Linked DNA regions of Homo sapiens: region 1 is linked to region 2. The links are contacts of gene promoters, found by promoter capture Hi-C in human tissues and cell types (Jung and others, 2019). All regions are on one chromosome and are shown on one strand. Each heading gives the region's core, a stretch centred on a gene start or on the middle of the fragment in contact. The rest is flanking DNA. Distances are from core to core; before and after follow the strand shown. Region 1 has its middle 8.9 kb from the start of ZFAND2A. Region 2 holds the start of MICALL2 (MICAL like 2).

The links. The method cuts DNA at HindIII sites, captures the fragments that hold promoters and counts their contacts. A contact is called where the count stands out against the background at its distance.
Region 1: a contact is called between a fragment that was not itself captured here and the fragment with the promoter of MICALL2 in region 2, in 1 of the 25 tissues and cell types used here (lymphoblastoid cells).

What each region holds. Positions count from the first base shown.
Region 1 is chr7:1,149,717-1,152,779 of GRCh38, forward strand. It overlaps a transcript of ZFAND2A not described here. Among named protein-coding and RNA genes, the nearest start is that of ZFAND2A, 8.9 kb to the right of the region's middle. The HindIII fragment of the contact is 5,994 bases long and covers 1-3,063 here.
Region 2 is chr7:1,457,719-1,461,013 of GRCh38, forward strand. MICALL2 (MICAL like 2) reads right to left here and starts at 1,752. Exons shown (of 17, transcript NM_182924.4): 1 at 1,466-1,752. The coding sequence starts at 1,608. MICALL2-DT (MICALL2 divergent transcript) reads left to right here and starts at 2,201. Exons shown (of 2, transcript XR_001745046.2): 1 at 2,201-2,549. RefSeq lists enhancers at 1-428, 429-1,151, 2,575-3,126, 3,127-3,295, 3,215-3,295 and a silencer at 1,525-2,244. The HindIII fragment of the contact is 47,250 bases long and covers 1-3,295 here.

The DNA of each region.
Region 1 (3,063 bases), core at 229-2,728, 310 kb before region 2:
CGCTGAATGCTGTAGGCCACTGCGGCACGGCGCTGCGTGTTTGTGCTTCCAAACCTAGGCGTGGTGCGGTCCAGCTTGCTGGGAGGATTCCATCCCAGTGTTCTGTGGGACTGCAGGGTGACTAGCTTGTTCTTAAGTTTTTTTTTTTTTTTTTGAGATGGAGTCTTGCTCTATCACCCAGGCTGGAGTGCAATGGCACGATCTCTGCTCACTGCAACCTCTGCCTCCCGGGTTCAAGCGATCCTCTTGCCTCAGCCTCCCAAGTAGCTGGGATTACAGGCATGCACCACCACGCCCGGCTAATTTTTGTATTTTTAGTAGGGACAGGGTTTCATCATGTTGGCCAGGCTGGTCTCAAACTCCTCCAAATACCACAATGTACCCCATCAATATGTACAATTATGTCAATTAAAATAAAAGCAAAAAAGTTTGTCAGATTAAAAAAAAAAGATATAGTGAAAATACAGTATGTTCTGCGATCACCAACATATACACGGTCCGTCATCGACAGAAACATCGTTCCCCTGACTGCAGGTCTGACCACCTTTTTGCAGAACGCCAACAGAATACAAACCCTTCCCGTTACATTTTTAGATGGTGAAAGCAGAAAAAAAAAAGGCAGTGGCTTGTGTTTTTGTGAACTGTCTCAGCGGGACATCTGGTGGGCACAGCTGGATGGCCAGGGCAGTTCAGAACAGGACAGAACTTGGGGGAATTTTGTTTCACCTTATTCCCTGACACCCCCTAAGTTCCCAGGAAATCACTGCACTCTTGATGAGCAGAGCGGCTGTCAGTATAAATCTAACACCAGTATTTACGTTACCCGTGTTCATCACTTCACAAAATCAGACGGTGGTGGAAAGTGTCAGGCCACGAAGGCCGCATCTGTCATCTGAGCCACAAAGGACTGTGCACCTCACTACCCCCCTTCCCTCCCGTTTTGGCTTTCTGCTCTTCAAACCTATAAAACCCAGTCTCCTGTAATCTCTGGCACTTGTGGAAGCCCTAGTTCCTGCCATTGTAGTTTTAAGTCACTTCTGGAAGTTTCCACTGCTTCATCACTGGACAGAGCCATCTTCAACAGGTGGCATTTTGCAACTTTCTTGTTGGTGCTGAAATAGATCCAGGTGCAAAGCAGCTCTCGGGCTTGCTGGCTGCTGACAACTGTGCCTTTTTTTTTTTTTTTTTTGAGATTCAGTCTTGCTCTGTTGCCCAGGCTGGAGTGCAGTGGCACAATCTGGGCTCACTGCAACCTCCGCCTCCCAGGTTCAAGTGATTCTCCTGCCTCAGCCTCCTGAGTAGCTAGGATTACAAGCGTGTACCACCACCACACCTGGCTAATTTTTGTTTTAGTAGACATGGGGTTTCACCATGTTGACCAGGCTGGTCTCAAACTCCTGACCTCAGGTGATCCGCCTGCCTCCGCCTCCCAAAGTGCTGAGATTACAAGCGTGAGCCACTGCGCCTGGCTGAACTGTGCCTGTTTTAAGAAGTTGACCGTGGCAGGGACAAGTGGTCCAGGAAGACACACCTTCTCTCACACAGTGTCCCAGCCCCTTGGAGGTCAGGAACGGGCACGCAGCTGTGCCCTCAAACAATGCGAGTAGCACCTGTGGCCGCCGCTGGACAAGAACCCTCGGCCAGGCAGGTGGATGTCCTTCCCCCTTCTTGGCCAGATAGTCACATCGTTACAGAGGTGACATGGTGAAGAGCGCAAGTGAGCTGTCTGGTGTTTGCTGGTTTTGAACTCCTGACCTTAGGTGATCCACCCACCTTGCCCTCCCAAAGTGCTGAGATTACAGGTGTGAGCCACTACGCCCGGCCTAGTTTGTGTATTTCAGTGGGGAAGTTTCAAGGTTTCAGGCTAACCATCTTCACTAAAATATAAAAGATTAGCCGGGCATGGCAGTTTGGTGCCTGTAATCCCAGCTACTCGGGAGGCTGAGGCAGGAGAATTGCTAGAACCTGGAAGGCAGAGGTGGCAGTGAGCTGAGATTGTGCCACTGCACTCCAGCCTGGGCAATAGAGCAAGACTTCATCCCTTTTAAAAAAAAAAAAGCAAAGCCAGCCAGCATTGAAGCTGGGGATTCCCGTGAAGATGGCCCGGAGGTGCTGCTGGGCCATTAGAAGTATGGGGAGTACCTGAAGGCGGAAGTTACCTAGAGTGGAAATAACCCACACGGCAGTGCAAACGGGAAGGACCTCATCACTTTCCACCAAAAAGAACAAAGAACAGCTCTTTTCAGGTTTGTCTTGATGATGCAGGAATGTTGATCATGTCAGAGGATCTTGGAGGGCAGAAAAGGTGTTTCAGAAACCAGCTGTATGATGCTGCTGCTGCCGAAAGGTTGTGCTGGAGCGAGCTGCTTCTGTAACTTGGGGTCCCAGTCCTGTGTCCTTCATCCATCCTGACGAAGTCGCACCACTGGAGCATCGCGTCACACTGTGCAGTTACACACAGCAACCTTTCCGTGTTCACCAACCAAGAGCTGCAGCACCCCACACAGACGAAATTGCGTTCACATGAGCCGGGTGAACCAGTACCCGAGTCGCTGGGCCAGCCCGCCAGGAGCCAGGGTGAGGAAATCTCCCAACGGCCTGGATTCAGAGACTGTCATGGGTGAGCACCTACAGAGAGGGTGGATGGATCAGCTCAGCCTCCATGTGCTGACCGCAAGAACCCACACAGCTTCCTGCAGGTAAGCAACTACCACTGGCCTGGCCCAGGGATGGACGCCAGACACCACCAGGTGCAACAGTTGAGGCAAATACAGATGCTTCTCGATTTGACAAACATTAGCATTACGAGTTGAATCATGTCCCCACAAGACATGCTGGAGCCCTAGACTCGGGACCTCAGAGTGTGACCTTCTGTGGACACAGGGTCTTTTCAGAGGTCACGACTGTGGGATCACATGACCAGCATCCTTACAAAAAGGGGAAGTCGGGACACACACAGAATGCCATGTGAAGATGAAGGTGGAGACGGGGGTTGTGCATTGACGAGCCCCGAGATGCTGGGGAGACGCAGCCGATGCTCCCCGCAGCCCTCAGAAGGGGCTG
Region 2 (3,295 bases), core at 502-3,001:
CCGGCGACACCAGTGATCCATGAAGCTGGTGGCCAGCAGCCGGTGGCAACGCCTCTCCCCACCCCAGAGGCTTTTCGGGCTGGCCCCAGCTTGGATGCCTGGGCTCAGCCACCAGCCAGCCTCATCCAGGACCCTGCAGCCCCGGGGGTGGGGTCTCGCCTGCCTTCCTCCCCATTCCGGGTCCTTCTCCCAGTCTCCAGGTCCCTGGCCCTCTCCTTCAAAGCTCAGCGTCAGGCTTTCCATGTGGAAGCACGCACCTTGTGCCCAGCATCTTCTGCCTGCAAGGGCAACAGAGGCACGTTCCTGGCGAGGGAGAGCGGCTGCTGCCCAAACGCCAAATGGAAGCCCCTGGTGGCTCCACGAATGCATGTCACAACCTCAGAGCAGGGGCCGAGGCTGTTGCTCAAGACCCCAGCTTCCTGCAGAGAGTGGGACTGGCAGGACAGTGTCCAGGGGCACAGGGGAGGAGCCCCGGATCTGCGCAACGGGCTGGGGCTGTGTGACCTGAGCAAGGACCCCTCCTCTTAGCCTCGGTTCTCTGGTCTGCACAGCTGCGGCCTGACAGAGGCCCCAGGTGCTGCCTGTGGCTCCTCCCAACCCCGAGACCTTCCCACCAAAAACACACTCAGGAGAACGCTTTGCCCAGAAGGTGCCTGGGCTGCAGGTGGCCGTTGAGGGCCCCCCTTCCTGAGCGTCTGGCCCCCAGCCCCGACACACAGATCTCTGTCCCAGCAAGCCTGGTCCCAGTCATTTAGCCAAAGAGCGTTTGCTGAGTGAATAAACAATGGAGCAGGTCCAGGCTCGGGCCAAGATTCAGCAACGGGCAGGGCCAGCTGCCCAGCTACACACGCCAAGACCCTCCTGGGGAGAGACAGCCTAGTCCTCAACCCCTGCCACCTCCTGCTGCTCCCAGAGATGGGGGCTGTTCTCCATCTCGGGCCCTATCACCCGGGGCCTCAGAGGCCCGGCTGGCAGCAGCACCTGGGGTCTGGGGGCTTCCTGCCCTGCACTGGCCGCTCCCCCACAGTGGCCCTGGCCACATCCCCCCAGGGGCCTGAACAGGCTGGGGGAGGGTCAGTGCCCATACGAGGGCTATCCAGGGACCCCATCTGGTGGCCAGGCCCCTGGGCAGTGAGAGCCTCGGAGGGCCCAAAGAGGCAGCTCTGCTGGCCTTTCCCAGGGACACAGAGGGGGACTGGACTGAAGCCAGGGCCCAGGAGCCGCCCTGAGTCACGTCTGACTCAGCCGGCGGGCGGGGGATGCCATGGCTCTGGCCCAGCTGCATTCGGTGTCCGGGCACACTGAGGCCACTGAGGACAGCCTCGGGGGGCTGCACGGTGGGCTGTGCCTGCCCAGTCCCACGCCTCGGCTCCCCATCCCCCAGCCGCCCGGGCCTCAGTTTCCCCGCCCGTGTCAGCGCGCAGCCGAACAGCAGAAGAATCAAAGGGCGCCAGGCAGGACTTACATGAGGTCGGGCCGGTGGCGGTGCAGGATGGCGCAGAAAGCCAGGCCGTCGCGGAACGACGTGGTCATGTTGCAGATATTCACGTCGCGGTAGCCCTCGCACTGCTGCCGGCACCACTGTTGCAGCGCCCTGATGGCCGCCATGTGGGCGGCGCGCCCGCCGCGCGGCGGAACCGCCCTCCGACACCTTCCCGCGGCTGTGCCGCGACCGCCCGGCCGGCGGGACAGACGCTGGGACCGCTACGGAACCGCCAGACCCACGGCGCCCAGCCCCAGCTGAGCCGGACTGAGGGCGACGAGTGCCGGGTCCCTAAGAGAAGCCGAGCCCGGCCCCGCCCCCGCCGGCCCCGCCTCCTTGTAGGCCCCGCCCCCAGCCGCCAAGTCCTGCCTCCGGATAGGCCCCGTCCTCACACCTCCCAGCCCCGGCATAGGCTCCCGCCCAGGCAGGCCCCACCTCCCGACAGGCCCCGCCCCCAGCCGCCGGGTCCTGCCTCCTGATAGGCCCCGTTCCCACGCCTCCTGGCCCCGGCACAGGCTCCCGCTCCAGGCAGGCCCCGACTCCGGACAGGCCCCGCCCCCAGCCTCCAGGTTTTGCCTCCCGAGAGGCCCCGCCCCACGCCGCCCGGCCCCAGTACGGGCTCGCGCCCTAGGCACGTCCCGCCTCCTGGTAAGTCCCGCCCCCACGCTGTCAGGTCCCGCCCGACAGGCCCCGCCCCACGCCGCCTGGCCCCTCCCCAGGCCCCGCCCCGCCGCTGAGGGCCGAGACCCCCAACCGGTGAAGGGGCGCGGTCTGCTTGGGGGTCCTGCCATTCTGGACCCCTGCGGAGACCTGGAATTTTCTTTTTCGCCGCCCCACCTCCCACCACCATCTCACCCCACCGCCATGGAGAAGAGGCAGGAAAGGCCGTTGACAAACGGGGACACTGAGGCTCGAACACCCTGCCCTGTCTAGGGCCTCAGCCCTCGGCAGCCCGGCCTCCCGGGGAGCAGGAGGCGCCTTGTGTTTCAGGGTTTCAAAGGACGTCCGCATCTGGTTTCTCTTTCCAGGCCGCTACATGCCAGCGGGGGTTCCAGGCAAGGCAGAGGTGAGGCCTGGGCATTGCCAGAGGAGAAACTGAGGCCAGGAAGGGGGCCGTGGAGCCGGAGTTGCACAGCTGGCCTGTGCTTTTCTTCTGGGGGCCTGTGGGCAGGATCTGTTCCTGGGGCAGGAGATTCCTCAGGCTGACTTGCAGGGTAGTTCCAATTTTCCACTTTGAGCTGTGACAGAAGAAATAAGGAAAGTCCCTCTGCTGGGGCCCTAAATTATCCCAGACTGGCCCCTGGCCCCGTTATCCTTGGGGAACCTTGTCTGTGGCCACGGGGGCTGGACGAGGGCGGAATCACTGACACCAGCCATGTGAGGGGGGCCTACCCTCCTGGCTGTGGGGCCAGGGCTTGTCTGGGCAGGGCCTGCAGGAAGGAAGGTGTTTTCCCGCAGTAGCCCCTGGCAGGGAGTCAGGGCAGCTTCTCTGTGCCCCTTGGGAGGAGGAGAAACTGAGGTCTTCCAACCCCAGCCAATGGTGCTGTTCCAGATCTTTTCTGAGGCTGGTCCCTGGTGAGACACCGTAGTGTTCATGGCCAGCTGCCTAAGTGTCAGTGAGGCCTGTGTGTAGGTGGTGAGCTCCCCGTCACCAGGGGCATGCAAGCAGCTGCTAGGCAGGGAGCCCTTGTGGCCTGGGAATGTGGCTGGCCCTAACCGCTGCTCCGCCACAGTCCCTGACCTGCGGATGTCAGGGGATATCGTGCCAGCACAGCCGGAGCCGGTCCTGGCACCGGGTTTTCTTGACTCCCA